Linked DNA regions of Homo sapiens: region 2 is linked to region 1. The links are contacts of gene promoters, found by promoter capture Hi-C in blood cells and fetal thymus (Javierre and others, 2016). All regions are on one chromosome and are shown on one strand. The core of a region is centred on a gene start or on the middle of the fragment in contact, and the rest is flanking DNA. Distances in the headings are between cores, read along the strand shown.

The links. Contacts are between HindIII fragments. The CHiCAGO score rates a contact against its expected background, and 5 or more counts as called.
Region 2: a contact is called between a fragment that was not itself captured here and the fragment with the promoter of MMADHC in region 1, in 2 of 17 cell types (total CD4 T cells and non-activated CD4 T cells). The highest score is 5.6, in total CD4 T cells.

Annotation. Positions count from the first base shown.
Region 1 is chr2:149,586,078-149,590,199 of GRCh38, forward strand. MMADHC (metabolism of cobalamin associated D) reads right to left here and starts at 1,698. Exons shown (of 8, transcript NM_015702.3): 1 at 1,587-1,698; 2 at 1,012-1,072. The coding sequence starts at 1,020. It overlaps MMADHC-DT (MMADHC divergent transcript), which reads left to right and starts at 1,281. Exons shown (of 3, transcript NR_110240.1): 1 at 1,281-1,773. RefSeq lists enhancers at 909-2,108, 1,425-1,744. The HindIII fragment of the contact is 5,011 bases long and covers 1,417-4,122 here.
Region 2 is chr2:151,638,452-151,642,573 of GRCh38, forward strand. NEB (nebulin) reads right to left here. Exons shown (of 182, transcript NM_001164508.2): 61 at 1,904-2,215; 62 at 1,406-1,609; 63 at 829-933. Among named protein-coding and RNA genes, the nearest start is that of NEB, 94 kb to the right of the region's middle. The HindIII fragment of the contact is 4,109 bases long and covers 108-4,122 here.

The DNA of each region.
Region 1 (4,122 bases), core at 448-2,947:
TTCTTATGACTTGTCTCTATAGTCACACTTTAGACTTAATATACCATGTTCAATTACAGAAATAGCATCCTGGCTAAATGCTGCCATATAAATCTTCCTAGCACACAGCTCTAAGTGAATAATCACAATTTAAAGAATGAAGTCTAAATTACTGAGTTCGGCATTCAAGGCTCTCATTTACTTGGTACCAACCTCACAATTCAACCTTATCTCCCACTTATCTCTTTCATGCAGCTTACATTCAGGTTGGCAGGCAGCAGTCACTTTTCAGTTTTTCAAAGGGGTAGGCGGGTTGGGGAGTTCTTTGAATATACCTTCCTGTCCTTCCCGCTCATATTTTAGACTATACAAATCCCACCTATCTTTCAAACCTCAAGTTAAATGTTTCCCTCATGAAGTGATCCCAAACTCCTCTCCACAAAGACTTGAATCTGCATTGCACCTTCGTGTAGGTTCTAAAAAAAATTATTACTTTATACTTTAATTGTAGCTGTTTTTATATATGTCTTATGACCGCTACATATGAATTCTATAGATAGGATGTGTCTAATCACTGCAAAGTTACAGTCAATAAATATCTCTGGTGTGTGAGAGTATCTCCTATTCTTATTTTGTAGGATTTAGAAGGTCACTTCCAATATGGAAACTGTTTTAAAAAAAAGAAAAAAAGATTAAAAAAACCCTTCAGTTTAGCTAACCCAAAAGCTAAAAAAGGGCCTAAACATAGATTCTAATATTTACTGAAACGCTGTATTTAAAAAATACCGAAAGGGTGCTTGAATTTCCACATCTGTACAAATGAAATTGTATAAATAAGTGTATTTGCAGTGCAAAGAATGCTACCATCTTCAAAGCATAACATAATTTCACACCACTTGCTTCCCTTGACATTTTTGATACATTATATCTAACACTATACCACCCAATGCCATCATAATTAAACCCGTTCTTTCATTCCTAACATTCCCAAACGAGTTTACTATGCTGATTCTTAAGAGATAATTTACTCACATTGGCCATCTCCGCTGGAGAAGATAGTTCGCAAAATAGCTTTCCTTTGGTAAAGTTATTTCTGGGAAAGAACACAACAAAACAGACGAGTGATCGATTAAACTCTAACAACAGACAACTGAGGTAACGTCCACTCTTCGAAGGTGTGTCGTCCACCACGTCAGGACCAAAGTCCAAGCTCTCCCCGTACCCTAAGGAGGCCAGAACTCGCCCCCATGCCAGGCACAGATCCCCCAGCCCGGAGCCGGCAGTGCAGCTCAGAGCCCTTCCGGTTTACAGCCGCGGAAAAACAACTCGGACCAGATCCGGGAGGGGAATGGGGGCTGGGTGGCCAAAATTCAGTCCAGAGGATCGAAGCGGCTGCTTTAACAGAAGTTGGGGCTGCGTAACAACAGCTCCAAGCAAAGCTTCAGGCTGATCGGAAAGATGAGGAAGCAGAAAAGAGACTAAAGACAGACGGACAGGATGGCTGGGGACAACGACAGGGACCCAGTGAAAATACGGGCAATACCGAGGGCTGTAACCCTAACACGGGCAAATTTGGAGGGGCTAACATGGGCGGAAACCATCCGTACCAGTCACCACCACTGTCTCCAGCTGTCCCAGAACCGGACTCTTCCTGCCATCAAAATGGCGGCGGCGACGGCAGCGGTGGTAGCACCTACGCTGGCGGTGAGCAGGCAAAGGAAGTTGCTTCCGAGCGCGTCGAAACGATGATGCGCACGCGCAAAGTAGGCCTACGTGGAGCCGACCTGCCATTGGGTAAACGCAAGGGAGGAGAAAAGGTGGGGCAGGGGTGATTTGGGTGGATGGATAGGAGGGCTTCCGACCTGCGTTAGGCGGGTCAGTTAATCTTCAGTAACTCCTTGATGCGTTTGATAGTCCTCCCAACTTAAGCCTTCCTTACTGCCTCCAGGAGATACAGTCTTCTGTTCTTTTTGTCATAGTTGTTTATTTTTCATGAATCGCTGTTTTTGAGCATAGGGCACTTACCTCTTTCTGTGTCCCCAGCCCTACCACAGTGCCAGGCTCTCAATATGCTCGATAAATATTAGGCGATTGATTTGTAAATCGTGTATCATTTTCATGTATCTAATACTTTTTTAAAAATTGATTAAAGCCCATAAGCCCATATTTTATTCCAGATGTCCTTAGTTTTCGACCTGGTATTCTTTTCCATTCCAGGATCCTGTCCGGAGTACATCACCATGTCTTCCAGGCTCCTCTGGACCGTGACCGTTTCTCAAACTTTCCTTGTTTTTGATAACCTTAATAGTTTTGAAGCGACTTATTGGTCATTTGGTCAAATGTCCTTCAATTGGGTTTTGCCTGTATTTTTCTCATGCATTAACTGAGGTTATGGGTTTTTCTTGAGTTAAGAGGTAAGGTAAAGTGATCTTCTCATCACATCACATCAAGGGTATATACTATCAACATGACTTATTACTGTTGATGCTAACCTTTATCACCATTATTACAGTGTCATACAGAAAAGTTTTATAGTTCTACAAAGATCCCCTTTGTTTCATCTAGTAAGCCCTTCCACCTCCCTATGTAGGGTTTGTCAGGTTTCTCCACTGTGAAGTTACTGTTTTTCTTTTCCTCTCCATACTATACTATTTGGAAGGACATCTCTCTGTGCAGCCCAAACTATAGGAATGGGAAATTGTTATACTCCACCTTTATGAGGACAGAATATCTTCATGAATTATTTGGAATTCTTCTGCATGGGAGATTTGTCTGTACTGCATTTATTTATGTATTCAATCATTTATGTCAGTATGGACTCATGGATATTTATTTTACATTTTGGGTTATAATCCAATACTACTTTATTTTGTTGTTCATATTGGTTCCAGCTTTGGCTATTGAGATTTCCTTTAGTTGGCATTTGTGTCTTTTTGACAAACCCTCCTCGTTTTATGTTTATTGATTTTTTTTCTTGAGCATTTTCTTAATTTCTATAAGTTGCTCCAGGCTCATCTTGTATATTCCCTGCCCCAATCCTAGAATCAGCTGCTTCCCCAAAAAGCCAAGGGTACTTTTAATGGAAAATGATATTAGAAATCAAGATTTGGACATTTGGGATGTTGTTGCTTCTAGACACTCTCAGCTGACAGAGCAAGGAAATATTTGTGGATATGCTAACCTGACTAAATACGCATATCTGTAAGTATTTATATATGTATCCATCTGTATCTTTGACAGCTACACAGGCGTTCTAGGTTCAAATACTAGAGCTGTTATCTTCAGTTCAATTCCAGCACCATATGGATCATTGCAGCCTTCTCCCCTTGCTTGTCTGTAGCCTTCCACTCCAGTGTGAGACACCTGGCTCTCATCATCTGCCATCCATTTACCTAATTGTTCAATTCCAGGTTACGTGTATAATGGATTCAGAACCGTCAACCCGTATTCAGAGTACATGTATAGTTGTTTCTGAACTGTTATCAGGTATACCTGTGAGAAACAGATTTACCAATTAGAGTACAATGCTTATGTATAGTTCTTTTGCTTTTAATCTTATAGATTCCACTTATTTTCAAAGTTACTGAAGTCAGCAGCCCTCCCTCCTACCTCTACCCGGCCTCAGTGAAGTTATTTTATATGCTCGTAATACAGTTGTAATCTTTTGCCACAATCTGCATTACTCCTGGGATTCTTTGAGTTCCTAAGATTTTTTAAAAAATCTTCCTCCGTTTAGGTTCTGTTTGTGCAATCCTCATAATGCACATTTATTTTTTTCTTTTCCTGTACATAATAGCAGACAGCTGGTCAGTAGTGGGATAGAAGTAAAAATTTTTTTAACTTCAAATTTTCTTTCTATGGGGTTTGACAAATCCATACATAGTGTCATGGATCCACCATTATTAGAGTGTCATACAGAAAAGTTGTAGTTCTAAAAAGATCCCCTTTGTTTCATCTAGTATTAAACCCTCCCACCTTCCTATACCTCTAGCAACCACTGATGTGTTTACCATCTCTATAATTTTGACTTTTCCAGAATGACATAGAAATGGAATAATACAGCATGTAGCATTTTCAGACTCATTTTCTTCACATAGTAATAGCTGCATTTAAGATTCATCCATGTTTTTGTGTGGCATAACA
Region 2 (4,122 bases), core at 912-3,411, 2.1 Mb after region 1:
CCCTGGTGCTGCTCTCCATCTCTGGGGGTTGGCACAGATTTGTTCTGTGCAGCTTCAGAGGACTATGTGAGTTTACAGAGAGAAATGTTGTGACTCAATACATCAGAAGCTTTCTCATAAATTTTCCAGAACGAATGGACTGATTTATGAGATCAGCTCCTTGTCACTGGGAACCCTTAAGCAAAGGCAGGTCAAAAACCTATTTGTGGGGAGGGGTACCTTTGCACTAGGGTGGAGGCTTGACTCTCTGCCTAAGCCTCTATGATTCTGGAATGATGGCACGTGGCCCTGTGCACACTGAAAGTGAAAGGAAATGGGCTTGCTAATATTTACACTGACAGATATTTCTCTCTCTCTGTGTGTGTGTGTGTGTGTGTGTGTGTGTGTGGGTTACCTGGTAGTACTGTGGATTTTAGTTCTTGCCTTTAATCTTATATACTAAAAATCTTAAATTTGGATCCTAAACCACACTTAGGAACAATATATGGAAAATATATTTACTACAGTTATGCTTTAGCATAAAGGGGAGATACATGTATAGGTCAATTGCTAATATCCTAACTTCAAAAAAATAATAAAAGAAAATGGTCTACATAATCTCATGGTTACAGCTTAAATAATTAGTTCATGTCATTTGTATTTCCTAAATGATAATTCATATTGCATAAAGTTTGACATTTATGATGGTGATTGAGAAATGCAAGAGTTGTTATTCACATGAAACATGAAAAAGATTCTTTCTAAAGCTGTCATTTGGTATCATGTCATCATAGAGTAGATCAACTGAAATAAGCAGCAGTGTGCAAATGTCAAAGAATCTGCTCTCACCTCACTGTAGTTGATTTTGTTCATTCTTGCCAACATAATTTCTGGTGTGTCTGGCATTATGTGGATCTGAGTCTTGTCTTTGTCCCAGGCTTCTGTGTATAAACGCTATCAAAAAAAATACACAAATTCATCAGGAAAAAAGTTCTGTGTATAGTTAATAGGAATTTTAGGGCCACAAAAACTTTATAAAAAAAAAGAAAAGGTTATGTGTTTTATACACATTATGTGTTTTATGCACATCTTCGGGTAATAAGTTCATAAAGGAATGTGTATTTATAAATGCCTTCTAATAATCTGAAATGTATGTTAACAAAAGGAAAATGAGAATAAGCATATTTTATGCAGACTATTTTTTGATAAAATATGCTACTTTATCAAAATCATGAAACAATGACTAAATATCAAAATATACATGATATATATCAGTTATTAATAGATAGATGAGAAGCCAATAGATACATAGACAGATAGATAGATGCCTTTTATTACTCAATGTTCTTTCTTTCCTCATTAATGTTTCTTTTTTGTTGATTCAGCTTTAGGAGCCCCACTTCGATTCTTAATTTTGAAGTCTCACCTTGTTCATAGTGATGGCATTATTTTTGGCCAACACTTGTTCCAGAGAGTCAGTCACACTGGTAAATTTGAATCTGTCTGGAGGCTGGCGATAGATTTTATCACTCAAAATTTCAGTTGCCCTTTTGCATTTTTCCACATCCAAAGAGCCAATGGACACCCAGCCAATGCCTCTCATCCACTGGAGATCAGACTTGTACATATTCTGTTGACACAAATAGCCAATAAATATTTATCTCTGTATCAGCAATGCATTTTCATCTGAAGGATAAGAGATCAAGTAAAAGCACTCTCAAAATTTAGTTTGGTGGACGGGCCAGGTATCACACAATATTCCTCTTTGGTCTGAAGGGTTAAAGGATTAAAATTCCTGTCGATAAAGGCAATGCTATTTGCCTCCTCCAGGGGCTGGTGAGCTTGTGCCATATATTGCCATTTTCTCCAAGGGGTGTTAAATAATTTCCCACCTCTGCACGTTATTATGACTCTCAGTACTCACATCGCTCTGGAGGTCATAGGCCTGCCGAGCATGGATGACGTCGCTCTGGTCGGGCAGGCATGTCCACTGGTGCAGGTAGTTCTTGTAGTCCACATCGCTGACTAAGGTCTGGCACTTCTTGGCCAGCACCACCCCCAGCATGTCCACTGGGCTGCTGAACTTGGTCTTCCACTTCTCAAAGTCCTTCTTGTACTCCCTGTCACTCTGGATCTTGGCCACGTGCATGGACCACATCATCTTGGGGTCATCACGTATAGCTCGGGCACCAATGTGGTGGCCGAGCTGCTTACGATAGCCTTCTTTGTACTTGAACTAAAAGAAGAAAAAGACAGATAGTCATCTGTTTTAACTTTTAGTAAAAAGCAATCACTAAGCCTAACTTGCTCTATTTATTAAAAAAAAAATTTTCCCTGAATATGTAAATTATATGATAGATGTAGAAACAATTTAGAAAATAAATATAGCACATATCATCACATATGAAATATATATCTTATATAAAATATATACCATATAGATAGGCATTACTTTAATACATTCTTTAATGTGAAAGTCATTCTGTTAGAATTTAGAATTTGTTTTTAAAATATTTAATTTTTAGATGTATAAATTTCAGGAGATTATGCTGCAATGACAATGACAATAAAAATGAAATTCTCCTGCATGGGTTTTATATGCTCAATGATCCAAAATTTCATTGAGTATCTACTATGTGTCAGGCACAATTCTAGATAAGTACCGCAGATTCAATAAAAATTATCTTTGCCTGCAAAGAATGTCTGTATATTTATACACACAGAAAAAAAAGAAAAATTAAGATGTAATTCTGCCACTAAAATAATTTGTTATGATTCGTGTGTGAGAATATAATTAGAAGTCATATTGTATATGGGTTTGTGCCTGCTCTTTTCAGTTATTATATAAGCATTTCTATGTGTCATTAAATAGTCTTTGCACACATGACTGTTTTTTTTGTTTTGTTTTGTTTTGTATTTTAGAAAGCATCTCTCTCTGTTGCCCAGGTTGGAGTGCAGTGGTACAATCATGTCTCACTGCAACCTCCAACTCTTGGGCTGAAGTGATCCTCCCACCTCAGCTTCTGAGTAGCTAGCACTACAGGCATGCGCCATCACACCTGGCTAATTTTTAAGTTTTTTGTAGAGATAGTGCCTTGCTATGTTGACCAGGCTGGTCTCAAACTCCTGCCCTTAAGTGATCCTCCCGCCTTGACCTCCCAAAGCACTGGGATTACAGGTGTGAGCCATGGTGCCTGACCTATACACATGATTTTTAATGACAGGTAGGTATTTCATTATATGGTATTTAACCCTTCTGTGATTGTCATTTATTCTTAAATTATGATTACTTCCCATATTTTGGAAATAAAGAAAAAAATCTAGAGTTTTTTTTATTCATAGACAAAAGAAATGGAAAGATAAAAATTTTTAGAAATGTGAGCAAATCCTTTATTTATTATACTTTAAGTTCTAGGGTACATGTGCACAACGTGCAGGTTTGTTACATATGTATATATGTGCCATGTTGGTGTGCTGCACCCATTAACTGATCATTTACGTTAGGTATATCTCCTAATGCTATCCCTCCTCCCTCCCCCCATCCTATGACAGGCCCCAGTGTGTGATGTTCCCCACCCTGTGTCCATGTGTTCTCATTGTTCAATTCCCACCTATGAGTGAGAACATGCAGTGTTTGATTTTCTGTCCTTGTGACAGTGAGCAAATCCATCTTTTAAAGAAAGCAAATATTTGTAACCCACCACCTGATATAGAAACAAACATGTTCCACAGGAATCGTTGAACTTTGAGTAATGTGTCCTATAATTCAGCCCTTGTAGATTCATTGGTTCATACAGCATAGGTTGGGTTTTGAAGGAACCCTACAATAAGCTCAATTGTATATGAGAGATACATCATTGGAAAAGCCAAAAAAATTATCTGAACTATAGTCAAGTATCTAATACTTTTGTTCAGCAGGAAACGGACATGTTTTGAAATGCATGTTGCTATGGACTCAACAATAACTTGAATTTGGCCTTTCTGTTGATAACTCTATTACCATTATTTTAAACCATTCATCGAAACAATAAACTGTTAGCAACAGCTTTAACCTCATGGCTTACTTGTGCCACTATAAATCCAGGAGAGAGAAATAAATCTTTGAGCCAAAGCTAAGGCAAATAACTTTCCAAGTATACTTAC